Linked DNA regions of Homo sapiens: region 2 is linked to region 1. Evidence: promoter capture Hi-C in 16 types of primary human blood cells and fetal thymus (Javierre and others, 2016). All regions are on one chromosome and are shown on one strand. The core of a region is centred on a gene start or on the middle of the fragment in contact, and the rest is flanking DNA. Distances in the headings are between cores, read along the strand shown. Region 1 holds the start of SLC66A2 (solute carrier family 66 member 2). Region 2 overlaps CTDP1 (CTD phosphatase subunit 1).

What was found. Contacts are between HindIII fragments. The CHiCAGO score rates a contact against its expected background, and 5 or more counts as called.
Region 2: a fragment that was not itself captured here is called in contact with the fragment with the promoter of SLC66A2 in region 1 in 5 of 17 cell types (neutrophils, monocytes, M1 macrophages and 2 more); the score reaches 12.7 in neutrophils.

The regions. Positions count from the first base shown.
Region 1 is chr18:79,947,153-79,954,603 of GRCh38, forward strand. SLC66A2 (solute carrier family 66 member 2) reads right to left here and starts at 4,501. Exons shown (of 6, transcript NM_025078.5): 1 at 4,429-4,501; 2 at 3,572-3,873. The coding sequence starts at 3,774. LOC124904336 (a long non-coding RNA gene) reads left to right here and starts at 5,657. Exons shown (of 2, transcript XR_007066429.1): 1 at 5,657-5,927; 2 at 6,124-7,451. RefSeq lists silencers at 3,783-3,902, 3,943-4,022, 4,343-4,852, 4,983-5,032. The HindIII fragment of the contact is 12,677 bases long and covers 1-7,451 here.
Region 2 is chr18:79,690,068-79,696,923 of GRCh38, forward strand. It overlaps CTDP1 (CTD phosphatase subunit 1), which reads left to right. Exons shown (of 13, transcript NM_004715.5): 2 at 5,158-5,241; 3 at 5,910-6,003. Among named protein-coding and RNA genes, the nearest start is that of CTDP1, 14 kb to the left of the region's middle. The HindIII fragment of the contact is 7,815 bases long and covers 1,047-6,856 here.

The DNA of each region.
Region 1 (7,451 bases), core at 3,251-5,750:
CCCAGTGTGGCCTGATCCCCGCCTGGCCTCTCCGCTTTTCCTCCACATACTCACAGCTGGCAAACACCAGCTATGAGGCATCATTTAGCCCTTCTCCTGGCTTCTGGCACCAACCTGCCAAATCCTGAATGTTGGCATTCCACAGAGTGTGATCTGCTGAATGCTGGTTTTGCAAAATGGTAGTAAGGACTGTAAGAAACAAAAACATGAGTGACCTATGTTTCAGAATCCCTGGGTTTGTACTGTTAAAGCAGCCCCTGCAGGACTGCAGAGCCCCATATGCCATGCACCCCAAATCCCCAACGGGGAGCTGCCCAGAGGGACTGGAGCTCTGAGGACCATGCCCCAACAGCTTTGGAGGCGTGAAGATTCGAACTCCACCTCTGCTCTCCCCGTCTCCCGCCCCTTCTCACCAGAGCCCAGCCCAGCCCCACCTCTGCTCTCTGCCCCCACCCCAGCCCCTTCTCACCGGAGCCTGCCCCCGCCCCACCTCTGCTCTCCTGCTCCCACCACCCCCAACCCAAACACCGAGTGTGCCTGCGCATGCGTGGAGCTGGGGTTGTGTGTGATGCATCCCGCGTGTCACTTCTGCTAAAGCACAAATCCTCTGCCCTACAAACCATGAAATCAAAGAGGCTGTGAACCTACAAAGCCTGGAGAGGGGAAGCCAGGAGTGGGGGGTCACAAGAGGCTCCCAAGAGAGAAACAGAAGGGGTCATCATCCCCCTCTGCACAGCAGGACCTGGGGACCGGGTGGGCACAAGAGGATGTGTGGTAGGTAGGGAGGTGGGCTTCGCTGTGTGGAGTGCAGGGATGGCGCATCCTCAGGCTGGAGGGACGCCCAGCAGGAACGAGCGCCCTCTGCTCTCCCCGCTTTCATCCCACCATCTTCTGGAACACACTGGGGCCCTGCGTGTGCACTCAGTGGTCACAGAAGCCATGCATGACCAGGACAGCCCAGGATGTTGATTCTATGAAGAGACCCATGGACAAAGTTCAGAATTCCCTGGAAGGCTGCCCTGTGCTCCACAAAGAAAGAGCTCAAGTGTCTCTCCAAGGCCTGTAAGCAAGAACTCCCAGTTCCAGCTTCAAACCTCTACGTCAGTGCCAGTTAGGTCATGAGGCAATGACAAGATGGCACCAGGAAACTGGGTTAATCTCTGACTTCTCCAAACCGATACTTAGATGGACATTAGATAGATTCTTTTCTTTCTTTTTTTGAGACAGGGTCTCTCTCTGTTGGCCAGACTGGAGGACAGCTCACTGCAGCCTCGAATTCCTGGGCTTAAGTGATCCTCCTTTCACAGCCTCGCAAGTAGCTAGGACTACAGGTAATGCCCCCACACCTAAGCTAATGTTTCAATTTTTTGTAGAGACGGTGTCTTGCTGTGTTGCGTTGGTTGGTCTTGAACTCCTGGCCTCAAGTGATCCTCCCACCCCGGCCTCCAAAAGTGCTGGAATTACAGGAGCGGGCCACCGTGCCCAACCTAATTTATTTTCTTTTAGCAACTTTGAACTATGAGCATACTGGGGAGGGAAACCTCTAAGCGGAACTTCTTTCCCGTATGGTTATCCACTCTCAGGCAATTTTCCTCCATTATTTTGGAGAGAATTTATTCTATAACCCTGAAGACGAGTGCAGCGCTCCTTCACAACACACACGTGAGCTGGGGCTGTAGCAGGTGGCCTGCCGACCAGCGTCTCCCCAACCCCCACAACATGCACTCAAAGTAAACAACAGCATTAGACAATTAGAAACCTACTTCCAGTCAACCTTACGCTCACTGAGGCCACTGCAGCACCGCCAGCCACGTCTCCAAAGCAGGCGATGGGAAAGAAAGAAGGAGTCTCCAAAATGAGCACCCCTGAACCTCCCTCAGATGCAGCCTGGCCCAGAGACAAACCTCGAGACGGGACTCGGACCCAAAATCCTCCTCCGAGGTCGTTGCAGGGGACAAACCTCCCTGCCTCAGAGACAACTCTGGGGAAGAGGCAGCCAACCCACTCGCTCACCTAAAAATCCCTGGCAGGGGCAAAACTAACACCCAGGGACACATGGACCAATGGCTGCCCATGGCCAGGGCTGGGATGAAGGCCACGGAGCAGGGAGCACCCCGGCTCATGAACACGGGACACCTCAGCATCAGAACTCATCAAATGGACACGAAAGGGGTGTATTTCATGGAATGCAAATCACACCTCAATAAGGTTGACTTAAAAACTAACAGGCGGGCCAGGCGCGGTGGCTCACGCCTGTAATCCCAACACTTTGGGAGGTCAAGGTGGGTGGATCATGAGGTCAAGGGATCGAGACCATCCTGGTCAACATGGTGAAACCTGGTCTCTACTAAAAATACAAAAATTACCTGGGTATGGTGGCAGGCACCTGTAGTCCCAGCTACTCAGGAGGCTGAGGCAGGAGAATCACTTGAACCCAGGAGTCAGAGGCTGCAGTGAGCCGAGATTGTACCACTGCACTCCAGCCTGGCGACAGAGCAAGACTCTGTCTCAAAAAAAAACAAAACAAAACTAACAGGCAAAGAAGCAGGTACGTGATTACTCAGTGACCAGAGTCAGAAGCAGAGTTCTTGACACCAGCTGCCTGGACTCCTTCTCTCCACCCCTCCACCAGGCCCTCTTCATAGGAAGAGCAGCAGACACCTTCCAATCTGCCCGGACAGAGAGGCTGGGATCACCCAGAAGAAAGAAAAATTTCAGACGTTTTTGGCCTTAGAATGCAGCTGTGAGACCTCATTTCCTCTGAAAACTCACCCTCCCAATTATGTCTGCCTTCAACAACTGTTAAAATTAATTTCAATTTCCTTAGCCTAATACAAATACAAAGAGGAAGTTGGGGAGAGGAACAAGACAGTCTCCAGAGAGAGTGACTTCCTATTTAAATAAGGCAGGCCAGGCGCCGTGGCTCAGCTTGTAATCCCAGCCCTTTCAGAGGCCCAGTGGGGAGGGATGCTTGAGGCCAGGAGTTCGAGACCAGCCTGGGCAACAAAGTGAGACAACCCCCCACTCCCCTGTCTCTACAAAAAATACAAAAAAAACAATTAGCCGGGTGTGGTGGTGCGCCTGTGGTCCCAGCTACTCGGGAGGCTGAGATGGGAGGATCACCTGAGCCCAGGAACGTGGAGACTGCGGTGAGCTGTCATGTCATCATGCACTTCAGCCTGGACCACAGAGCAAGACCCTCTCTCAAAACAACAAAGAAAAACTATACAACATGAAAAAGGAGGGCAGGAACGGCTCCTCTCCACAGGCAGGCCTAGGCCAGTGCCCAGCTGAGAGGTCCCTGCTAAGTACCCATGTGGAACATCATGCAAGGAGGCGGATCTGGAGATTTTCTCTGAGATTCTGTGCTCCAACCCCACCGTTTTTCTGGAAAAATAATCTCACCCTAAGAAGTGACTTGCCTGCAGCCACGTACCCCATCCACGGCAGAGTGGGACGCTGGCCCAGCAGGGAGGTGTGGACCCTGCTGCTCCCCCGGCCTCAACCAGAAACCCCAAAGGAGAAACCCTCTTCTCCGGGTGCAGCCCAGGAAAGCAAGCCCCCAACTTACCAGAAGAGTATCCGCAAAATGTTGGCCACCAGCAGCACCAGGCACACGTAGGTGGAGAAGCCGTCGGCGTTCTGCGTCCTGCGAATGTCCCGATACTGCGGGACGTAGGGCACCACCCCTCCGAAGACCATGGCCGCGGCCGCGCCCCAGGACACCAGCTGGTGCAGTGGCACCAGGAGCCAGTCCAGGCCCTCGGCCTCCATCGCAGCGCCCGCCTGGCCGAGGCTGTCACGGGCTCCGCGCCCCGCGGGCCACCGGCCGCCTGCTCATCGCCGCTCCGCGCGCTCCTGCGGCCTCGGGGCCTGCGGGGAGCGGGGAGCTGCTCGAGTTCCGCCCAGGGAGGCTGGGGCGGCGCGCACGGACCCGACCCGACCCGCGCCAGCCGCAGGACCCGAGGCAGAGCGGGGGCGACCGGGGCCCGGGGCGCGCGAGGAGCGGCCCCTGCCTGGGACGGGGGGGTGTCTGGGGGTCCCGAGACGCTCCCGGAGGGGGCTGGGGAGGGGTCCCAGCGCCGGGGTCGAGGACGGGCGAAGCCCCTGGGGTCACCGCCCGGGTGCGCTTAGCCGGCGGGGGTCCACGCGCGCCCCGGGATGGGGTGGGGGAGGGGGCGCAGGGCCCAGGATCGGGGCGCACTGTTCGGGGGAGGGTCACAGGGCCTAGCATGGGGGCGCACGGCTCGGGGGAAGGGGGCGCAGGCCCAGGATGGGGGCGCACGGCTCGCGGGAGGAGGTGCCGGGCCGGGGACCCCACAGGACCAAGCCAGGGGACTGAAGGCCGCGACCAACTGCCCCGGCCCTGCGTCCTCGGCCGCCCTAGGCCGCCCCCCGAGGACCCCGCGCCGCCCCCGCGCTCCTTACCTGCGCCCCCAGCCCCGCGCCCAGCGCCCCGCGTCCCCGCGCCGCTGACCCGCGCGCGTCTCGGCGTCAGTCCGCTCAGGCGCCGGGAAACCCCGCCCCGTGACGTCACAATGCCGGGCCCCGCCCACGCCGGAGCTGCGCGGAGGCGCCGCGGTGTCCTAGAGCGCGCTGGGCAGGGCGGGCGCAGGCGGGGCCGGGAGCCGGGGCTGTCGGGGCGGTGGGGGCGCGTGGCTCCTCCCGCCCGGTCGGGAAATACCAGCCGGGCGGGGCCGGTCCCTCAGGCCTGGCGCCCACGTTAACCCGTCTCCAGCTGTCCCGGCGCGCGGCCATCCAAGCGGAGGGCGTCGTCCTGGAGGGCCGGGGGCGCGGGGTCCGGACGCCCCTCTCACGCGTGTCCTGAATGCGGGCCACCCGGGGACGAGTCTCGTCCAGCTCTGTCCTGACCCAGGAGACCCGGGGACCCGGCTCGGAGTTTGCAGCGCCCAGAGGCGGCCGGGGTCTCGGGAAACGGAGCGCCCCCCGCGGGTCTCCGCTCCGATGCAAGTGCCCCACGAGCAGATGCGCCGGGGCCGTCGCCGGGGGGCCGGCTGGACGCGCGGCCGTCACCGTGGCCATTGTCATTATCGTGGTTGCGGCCACGGTCGCTGTCGCTGCAGAAACGCGGGGCGGCCTCTCCCCATCCCCGTGTAGTTCTCCGGGCTGAACCGTTGGGCGCCTATTTGCAGAAAAGGCAGCTCCTGAGCCTCAAGACAGACTCGGGGGCCAGGCGTGCGTGAAGCCCGGGCCCTGCTGCCGGCCTCGCGTGCCAAGCCAACTCCGAGCCCCACACCCGCCCGCGGGGAGCTGCCCTCGCCCGGGACCCTCTTGGCCCGCGCGGGTGAGGACTGAGGGCGAGGGGCGCGTGGATGAGGGGCGCGCGGGTGAAGAGTGAGGGGAGCGCGGGTGAAGTGTGAGGGGAGCGCGGGTGAGGGGTGAGGGGCGCGCGGGTGAGGGGTGAGGGGAGCGCGGGTGAGGGGTGAGGGGTGAGGGGAGCGTGGGTGAGGGGTGAGGGGTGAGTGATGCGCGAGTGAAGGGTGAGGGGCGCCTGGGTGAGGGGTGAGGGGTGAGGGGCGCGCCGGTGAAGGGTGAGGGGAGCGTGGGTGAGGGGTGAAGGGTGCGCGAGTGATGGGCGGGTGTGTGTAGGGTGAGGGACGCGTGGGTGAGGGGCGCGGGGGTGTGAGGCGAGGGGTGCACGGGTAAGGGGCGAGCCGCGAGGTTGAGGGGTCCACGCTGAGGGTTGCTTCCCCGCCAGCCGCGGCCTCTTCTCCACGATCCCGGCCCCCTGCCCCCTGCCCCCTGCCCGACTGGTTTTATGGGGGATCATAAGGACAGTCACCACCTAACTAGGAGCAAATCCCCAACAATCGAGGAAACAGGGCGCTCCTGCCTTGCGCCCCCAGGCTGGCGTTGGAACTTCTTTAGAGCCAGCGCTGCGGAGCCCCAGCACCAGGAACGTAGAGGTGAGTAAAAGGCACAGCAGGAAGCCTGGGAGAGAAAAAGCAGCTGCCCCTGCTCAGCCGCGCCCTAGCCTGAGCCCAGCAGCCTTTGGGATCATCTGTCCTCTCTGCCCTGGAGGTTGGAGTAAGCTCCGGACCTCCTTGACCCTCACGGGAGCACTGGGGTCCCAGACGCTATCCTCGGTTATCTTAAATCCAGAGGCTGTGGAGGCATGGGGCAAATTGTGCCCGCAGCCTGGGGCCTAGAGCTGCATCTGTGCACGGGGCCTCCAGGAGCCCGGCTCAGTGGACGAAATCTGGCATGCTCGGACGTCACCCCACAGGCCTCACGCCTCAGAGGCACCCCGAAAGGTGAGTTGATGACTGCAGAGTGAGTTTGTACCTTTTCGAACACCACCTGCCGGGGGTCCGAGCCCCCACCCCCAGTCTACATCAGCCAATCACAGCTCATTGCAGGTGCTGCGCTTGTCACATAGCTTCCTGCAAACAAGAGAAGCCGACCAAGCCATGCACAGCTGGAAAATGGCCCTTATAAAGCCATCAAGTCCTAATCCAGGCAACCTGTAAATATTACCTCGTATGGGAAAACAATTTTTTTTTCTAATGTCATTAAGGATCTTGAGATAGAGAGATTGTCCTGGATTATCCAGGTGGGCCCTAAACACTGTGGCTCACGCCTATAATCCCAGCACTTTGGGAGCCTGAGGCAGGTAAATCTCTTGAGCCCAGGAGTTCGAGACCAGCCTGAGCAACATGGTGAGACCTCGTCTCTACAAAAGATAGAAAAATTATCTGGGCATGGTAGTGTGCACCTGTAGTCCCAGCTACTCCTGAGGTGGAAGGATTGCTTGAGGCCAGGAGGTTGAGGCAGCAGTGAGCCAGGATCGCACCACTGCACTCTAGCCTCGGTGACAAAGTGAGACCCTATCTCAAAAATAAATACATACAACAGAGACAGGGTCTCTGTGTTGGCCAGGCTGGTCTTGAACTCCTGGCCTCAAGCGATCCTCCTGCCTTGGCCTCTCAAAGTGCTGGGATGACAGGCATGAGCCAGCGTGCCCGGCCACATGCATCTTTGTAAGAGGGAGGCAGAAGGAAATTTGGTGCCACACAGAAGAGAGGGCCATGGGAAGATGGAGCAGAGATGAAGATGGGGCCTTGAAAATTGACGTGATGCAGTCCCAAGCCAAGTAACGCCGGAGCCACCAGAGGCCCCAGAAACAAGGAGCAGATTCTCCCCAGGAGCCATGCGAGGGAGCCTGGCCCTGCCAATGCCTTGATTTCAGCACATTAAAAGTGATTTTGGACTTTTGGCCTCCAGAGCTGTGAAGGAATAAACTTCTGCTGTTGTAAAAGCCACTTAGCTGTGGTCATTTGTTGCAGGAGCCAATGAGTGACTGACAAGATCAGAGCTGTGACACAGAGGAAGCAGAGCTGTGCCTCATGCTTTCCAGGCTCTGCTCATGAGAAACAGGTCACTGGGTTGGCCCGGTGCAGATTAAGGTGTCACGTAGGAGCATGAATACC
Region 2 (6,856 bases), core at 3,704-6,203, 260 kb before region 1:
TGCAAAAAATACACTCTTCCCTCTAAATACATTTCTACACTCAGAATGTTGGAACTTAGGGAAGACCCTGGAGCCCTCCTGATCTGTAGAAGGAAGGGAGAAGGTTGGACCCACCTGGAGGCGATGCTCAGAGGTGATGGCGTCCATGGTCCAGGCCCAGCCCGTAGCCCTCTCTGATGTACCCATGCCCTCGGACCTCCCCTGAGAGAGCTGAGAGGCCAGAACCCCACAGAGTTTGGTACTTACTATACTTGTGTATTTTGAGGCAAATAACTTGTTTAGAAGTTGCATGTCATGGCTTTCTCATGGATTTTCTTTAGGACAAACCAGAAAACATTTATTGGTGACTGATTGGACGTTTTTGGGCTGAGCTCTTTGGTTGGGTGTTTTTACGTTTGTGTATCCGCATTCAAGAATCCACAACGTGTCACACCCCTTTTTAAGGTGTGGAGACGTTTCTCTGCCTGGAGCGTGGAGGCTGGAATGAGAGCGTTCAGGGCTTTTCACCCCTGTTTTCTGTCAGCATCTGCAAAGACGAAGTGTAGAAATGTCTCGTATTAAGAAAAGACATTGCTCTCTGCTCCCTGTCTGCACGCGGGTTTCCCAGCCTTTGCACACACAGACATTCTGAGCCAGATGGCCTGGCTGGGAGCATCCTGCATGCTGTGGGTTGCTGAGCAGCTTCCCTGCCTCCAGGTGTGATATCCAGGAGTGTCTCCAGCCACTACAGGAGTCCTGGGGTGGGGGGTGGAGCAGAGCCTGCACTAGAATAAGACAGTCAGAACCTTTCAACCGCAGTACAGAAAATTACGTGACTCCGACGTGGCCAGTATGCGAGTGATTTTCTACGAAGGCCTGTGTTTGGTCACGTTGCTGGAAGCCTGCGGAGTGCTGCCTGCGTGCACTGGGCGCAGGTGCCCTTGGCGTCAGGAGCCGGCCTTGTCTCTGCCACCGGGACCTTGCGTGGTTGCCATTTCCAGCCCTCACCTGCTTCCTACTCGTCTGTCAAGACCCAGCTGTTACAGCTGCTGTGACACTGTTCTAGAAGCTTCCTTCCTCGTGTAGAACTAGGCATCTGCTGTAGTCATCTGCCGGTGGCACCTCCGTCTTGCAGTCGCTCTCGTCTGACTCGTATTACACTGTTGGTGACAGCAGGCAGTGCGCACCCGACTCAGCTTATAGTCAACTTTCTTCAGACCTCAGGCTGCGCTGGTGGCCCAAGGGAGGCTGTTTGTGGGAAGCAGGGCCAGCTTACACTCGCTCTTAGACCTGTGCTGGGGAAGGCAGGTGGCACCTGGGCTTGCTACCAGCCCTTCCTTGGAGCAGGAGGCCCCCGTCCTTTGTGGCAGCCTAGTGTCAATGTGCGACGGGTCACACAGCTTCCCAGGCAGGACTCGGGCTGGGGAACAGTGGACAGCTCCCAGGGTGGACTCGGGGTGGGGAGGAGTGGACGGCTCCCAGGGTGGACTCGGGGTGGGGGAGGAGTGGACGGCTCCCAGGGTGGACTCGGGGTGGGGGAGGAGTGGACGGCTCCCAGGGTGGACTCGGGGTGGGGAGGAGTGGACGGCTCCCAGGGTGGACTCGGGGTGGGGAGGAGTGGACGGCTCCCAGGGTGGACTCGGGGTGGGGGAGGAGTGGACGGCTCCCAGGGTGGACTCGGGGTGGGGGAGGAGTGGACGGCTCCCAGGGTGGACTCGGGGTGGGGAGGAGTGGACGGCTCCCAGGGTGGACTCGGGGTGGGAGAAGAGTGGACGGCTCCCAGGGTGGACTCGGGGTGGGGAGGAGTGGACGGCTCCCAGGGTGGACTCGGGGTGGGGGAGGAGTGGACGGCTCCCAGGGTGGACTTGGGGTGGGGGAGGAGTGGACGGCTCCCAGGGTGGACTCGGGGTGGGGGAGGAGTGGACGGCTCCCAGGGTGGACTCGGGGTGGGGGAGGAGTGGACGGCTCCCAGGGTGGACTCGGGGTGGGGAGGAGTGGACGGCTCCCAGGGTGGACTCGGGGTGGGGAGGAGTGGACGGCTCCCAGGGTGGACTCGGGGTGGGAGAAGAGTGGACGGCTCCCAGGGTGGACTCGGGGTGGGGAGGAGTGGACGGCTCCCAGGGTGGACTCCGGGTGGGGAACAGTGGAGAAAACCTTTGCAGAACACACTCTGCAGGCGTTTGTCAGCCGTTGATCCATTTGTGTGAAGCCCCACTGGCTGGAAGGTGCCCCCCGCCCGCCATGGAGTTTTCTGGGCACCTTGGTGGGTCGTCTGTCGGTCATACCTTTGAGTCTTTCTGGACTCCTCTGTTCCATGCGTTTATGTTGTATGCCTGATAAGTTCTGAAGTCAGGTAGTAAAAGTTCTCTGTTATTTTTGAAAATTGAGATTCTAGGTTTTCTGAACTTCCATATAAATTTCAGAAGCAACTTGTCAATTTCTACAAAAAAACACCTGTTTATTGGTTAAACTAGAGCCACCCCAGATCCTTCTTCATGTTAACATGTTTAGGAGAGATTGGCAAAATCCTCCTAGTTCATATTTGAGGATTCCTTTCCCTCTCTTCCCCTTGCAGGGGGTAGAGCAAGGAGGAGCCCGCGGTGAGCTGGTGTCTTGCATGGGGCAGGGGGTAGAGCGAGGAGCCCGCCGTGAGCTGGTGTCCTGCGTGGGGCAGAGGGTAGAGCAAGGAACCCGCCGTGAGCTGGTGTCCTGTGTGGGGCAGGGGGTAGAATGAGGAGCCTGCCATGAGCTGGTGTCCTGTGTGGGGCAGGAGCTGTGCAGAGTTTCCTTGCAGAAGGCTGATTGCAAAATGATGTCAGCTGGAGACCAGGGAAGCCTGTTAGAGGGGCTGGGGCTCCCAAGTGGGGTTGCTGCCAGGACTGGGGGAGCAGTGCCCAGGGAAAGGACGTGGGGCCATTGGGAGGACTGGGTTTGGGTGTTGGCGGTGGGGCCGCAGAGCCCTGTGGATGGACGAAAACAGCTCAGCCGGGGAGTTGGGGGCTGCCAGGCATCGGAGAGGAGCCTGGATGTGGAGGCCCCGAGTGCGATGGCGGTAGGGACACAGACTCCTGGGCGGGGATGGCCCCTGTGGCCTCAGCAAGCAGGGAGCAGGTGTCCCTGAGGCCTGTGAAGCCTGGCAGTGTCTTTGAGCAGGTGTGGTGACCGGGAGGGAGGATGGTCCAGTGTGGGGTTTGTGCGTTTTTTTTGTTTTTGTTTTTGTTTTTTTTCAGAGATTGGGTTTTTAGGTTAAGTCTCTGCTCATTGGGGCATTTTAGGGCAGAACTCTAATCATTCATTGTAAAGTATTTTGATAAAATTAAGGAAATCATACTTGTCACCTTAGAAAGTTTAACACACTTTTTCAAACAAGGTGTCACTATTTTGTTGTCTGGTTTAAGAAAAAAACCTGATACAGGTTGAGTCTCCCATATCCAAACTGCTTGGAAACAGAAGTGTTTTGGATTTCTGGGTTTTTTTGGATTTTGGAATATTTGCACGTATACATGACGAGATGTCTTGGGGATGGGACGTGAGTAAACGCGGAATCCATTTGTGTTGCACATGCACTGTGTACGCACAGGCCCAGGACCCGGAGGAGCTCAGATTCTTGATAGTCACCGGCAGCCCACTCCATCCCCGAGGGCTCGGAGCCCCGCACCGTGTGTCCTCAGCACCGTTCCTCCTCCAGGGTGATCCGCACACGCCCATCCTCCTCCCCAGGAAGAACTCCCCTCCACTCCCCTCCAGGCTACAGACCCGCCCCTCCCATTCTCCCTGCAGGATGCTGGCTACAGACCCGCCCCTCCGAGTCTCCCTGAAGGATGCAGGCTACAGACCCGCCCCTCCGCTCCCCTGCAGGATGCAGGCTGCAGACCCGCCCCTCCCAGTCTCCCAGCACAGCCTGCCATGGCACAGTGGGCATGGAGGATGTGGCTCCGCCTTGTTTCCGCCTGTGGCCTGATCCTTGCGCCCTCTCGATGACATGGCTGGGGGTCTTGGTGGGCCATGGGGCATCCCGCCTGGAAAGGTCCCATTGACAGATGCAGCTTGGGTGGCTGTCTCATGTCCGCGGGTCAGGGTGGTCGGAGCAGCCCGGCTGGGACGGGAGTGTGGGGGCTGTGAGCACCTAGGGGCGGGTGCTGAGTGCTGGGCGGCCTCATGTCTGCAGGGCAGGGTGGTCGGAGCAGCCCGGCTGGGATGGGAGTGTGGGGGCTACAGGCACCTAGGGGTGGGCGCTGAGTGCTGGGCGGTCTCATGTCCACGGGGTGGGGTGGTCGGAGCAGCCCAGCTGGGACGGGAGTGTGGGGGTTGCGAGCTCCTAGGGACACTGAGTGCCGGGCAGCCTCGTGTCCGCGGGGCGCGGTGGTCGGAGCAGCCCGGCTGGGATGGGAGTGTGGGGGCTACAGGCACCTAGGGGTGGGCGCTGAGTGCTGGGCGGTCTCATGTCCACGGGGTGGGGTGGTCGGAGCAGCCCGGCTGGGGTGGGAGTGTGGGGGCTGCGGACACCTAGGGTCAGGCGCTGAGTGCTGGGTGGTCTCATGTTCGCAGGGTGGGGCGGTCGGAGCAGCCCGGCTGGGGTGGGAGTGTGGGGGCTGAGGGCACCTAGGGGCGGGCGCTGAGTGCCAGGCGGCCTCTGGTCTCATAGCCTTCAGATTTCAGCACTTCTTCCATGGCTTCTGCCAGAAGACCACTGTTTGGACAAATAAAACAGTTTGTGTTTATATAAAACGAACATTACAGTCATTTTGTCAGGAAAATGTAGTTGCATCAGCCTCTGTCTAGACTGGGAATGATATGAAAGTTTTAGATTTTATAAATTCTCTAACGGAAATGTCAGAGGATCACATATAAATAGTGTGTTTTGAGACAACTTTATGTTATCCCCAAGTCTCCTCTTTGGACCAGACATCCTTAGTTTTTTCAGCTGTTCCACGGGTGGCACGGGGGTGGTGAGGTGTGGTGGCGTGTCATTTTTCATGAGAGACACCTGTAGGTGGAAAGTCCTTTCATTTTATAGACAAAGAAATGCCCTCAAGGGGTGATGTCACCTGCCTACAAAGTTATGCAAGGGTTAGTGTAGAATTGGTACAAAAACCTAGATTTTAAAATTCTTACTTGGGGGCTCTTTTGATAAACCAAGAGATTTTAAAGTGTTGTTCCCCTTGTGTTTTTTTGTAGAGCGGTTCTGGTGAGGTTGGAAGGATGCAGCCACCCGGTTGTCATGAAAGGCCTGTGTGCTGAATGTGGCCAAGACCTCACCCAGTAAGTATCCGGAAGAGTGAGATCGCTGCCTGCTGGGGCTCGAGGTGGTGGCCTCCGGGGAGTCCGAGAAGCTGTGCTGGGAACACAGTGAGGCCCTTGGTTTCCCAGCGGCAGATGCAGACGCCTCCCTTGGGCCCCATACGAGTCACACTCAATGGGTTTCCCTGGAGGCAGTCCTTCCTGCTCTGTGACCCCAGCCTCATGCCATTCTCAGGTGTGGTGGGGGGGCATGCTGGAGGGCCGAGACCTGTTTTCTCCTGACTGAAGACGCAGATCGCTGAGTGCCTGGAGCAGCCCCTCCCTCTGGGCCGCTGAGCGCCCCATGCTGGGGGCTGCTTTACCTCTAATGCCAAGTGGGAGGTGCGGCAGCTACTTTTTCTGCGTTTTCATGGTTGAGGGCCTGTTTCTGCTTCTGTGTGACTTTGCAGTTTGTTTTCATGAAGGACTATGGCTCTGTGTGTTCATGAGTGTGGCCACGAGCTCAGTGTTTCCACCAGTTTTCCTGTCTGTGGAGAATGTTTCCACGTTTGCCGACAGAATCAAGTCTGTGCTAAGATAGCAGCGTGTGTCCGTTAAAACATCAGCTAGAATCCTGTCACTTAGAGCCCAGTGTGCATCTGTGCGCAGAGACTCAGCTGAAAGCCCTGAACCTGTCCTTGCACTTGCAGGTTGCAGAGTAAGAACGGGAAGCAGCAGGTGCCGCTGTCCACGGCGACCGTGTCCATGGTGCACAGCGTGCCGGAGTTGATGGTGAGCTCCGAGGTGAGCCGGGCATCAGTGGCGGCGTGTTGGGGAAGCGTGGTGCTCTGAGGAGGGCGGCTGCAGGAGGAGGGTGGCTGCAGAAGCACGGACGTGTGGTTGTCATCGTCGTTACTGAAACAACCCCTCATCACACGGATGACTTATGGGACTGCGGCCTTCCTGAAGCAGGGACGGTTGCCCTTGGTTCTCCACAGACAAGTCTGCCTGCAAAAGCGACTCAGGGCCCCGAGGCTGTGTGACCTGCGTGTCGGGAACACCAGGTGCTGCCGCCGCAGCTGTGAACAGCCAGGCTCAGCCTGGGTTCCCTTGAGCCAAGTCCTAACTGGGGAGGGATGTGACAGCTGCTCATGGAGCTCAGGAGGTGGCCGCGCTGCCGAGGCATGTGCTGGATGACCCGGGAGGGCAAAGCGCATATTGGGGCAGATAATGGCGAGGAGTCGGTGGCCGGGGGTAGGGGCGGGGGGACGTGGTTGGTAGCACCTTGTTGGCTACAGGAGCGGCTGCTGCTGGCACCATTGGGAAGCTGGCTCGGGAGAGTGGGCACATGCAGGGGCGGGTTGGGGGTCCCAGGAGTGTTTGCCTTGTAGCCGACAGGAGAGCCCATGGGGGGTACGCAGGGTGGAGAGGACGGGCAGGTGTTCACGTGCCCAGTTAAGAGTGAGATGGGTTTTTATCTTCGAGTGCTACGCCTCGTTTATGTATTTCAGGAGTTGCTGGGGCACTGTGGGTCAGCGGCTCCGGGCACCTCCTGTGCTTGAGGCAGACACCGTCTCCCCGACCTCGCTTCACCCCGTGGGTGAAAATGCTCTGGGAGCTGAGAAAAACTAGTTTGTGATCTTACAGACTTTCAGGG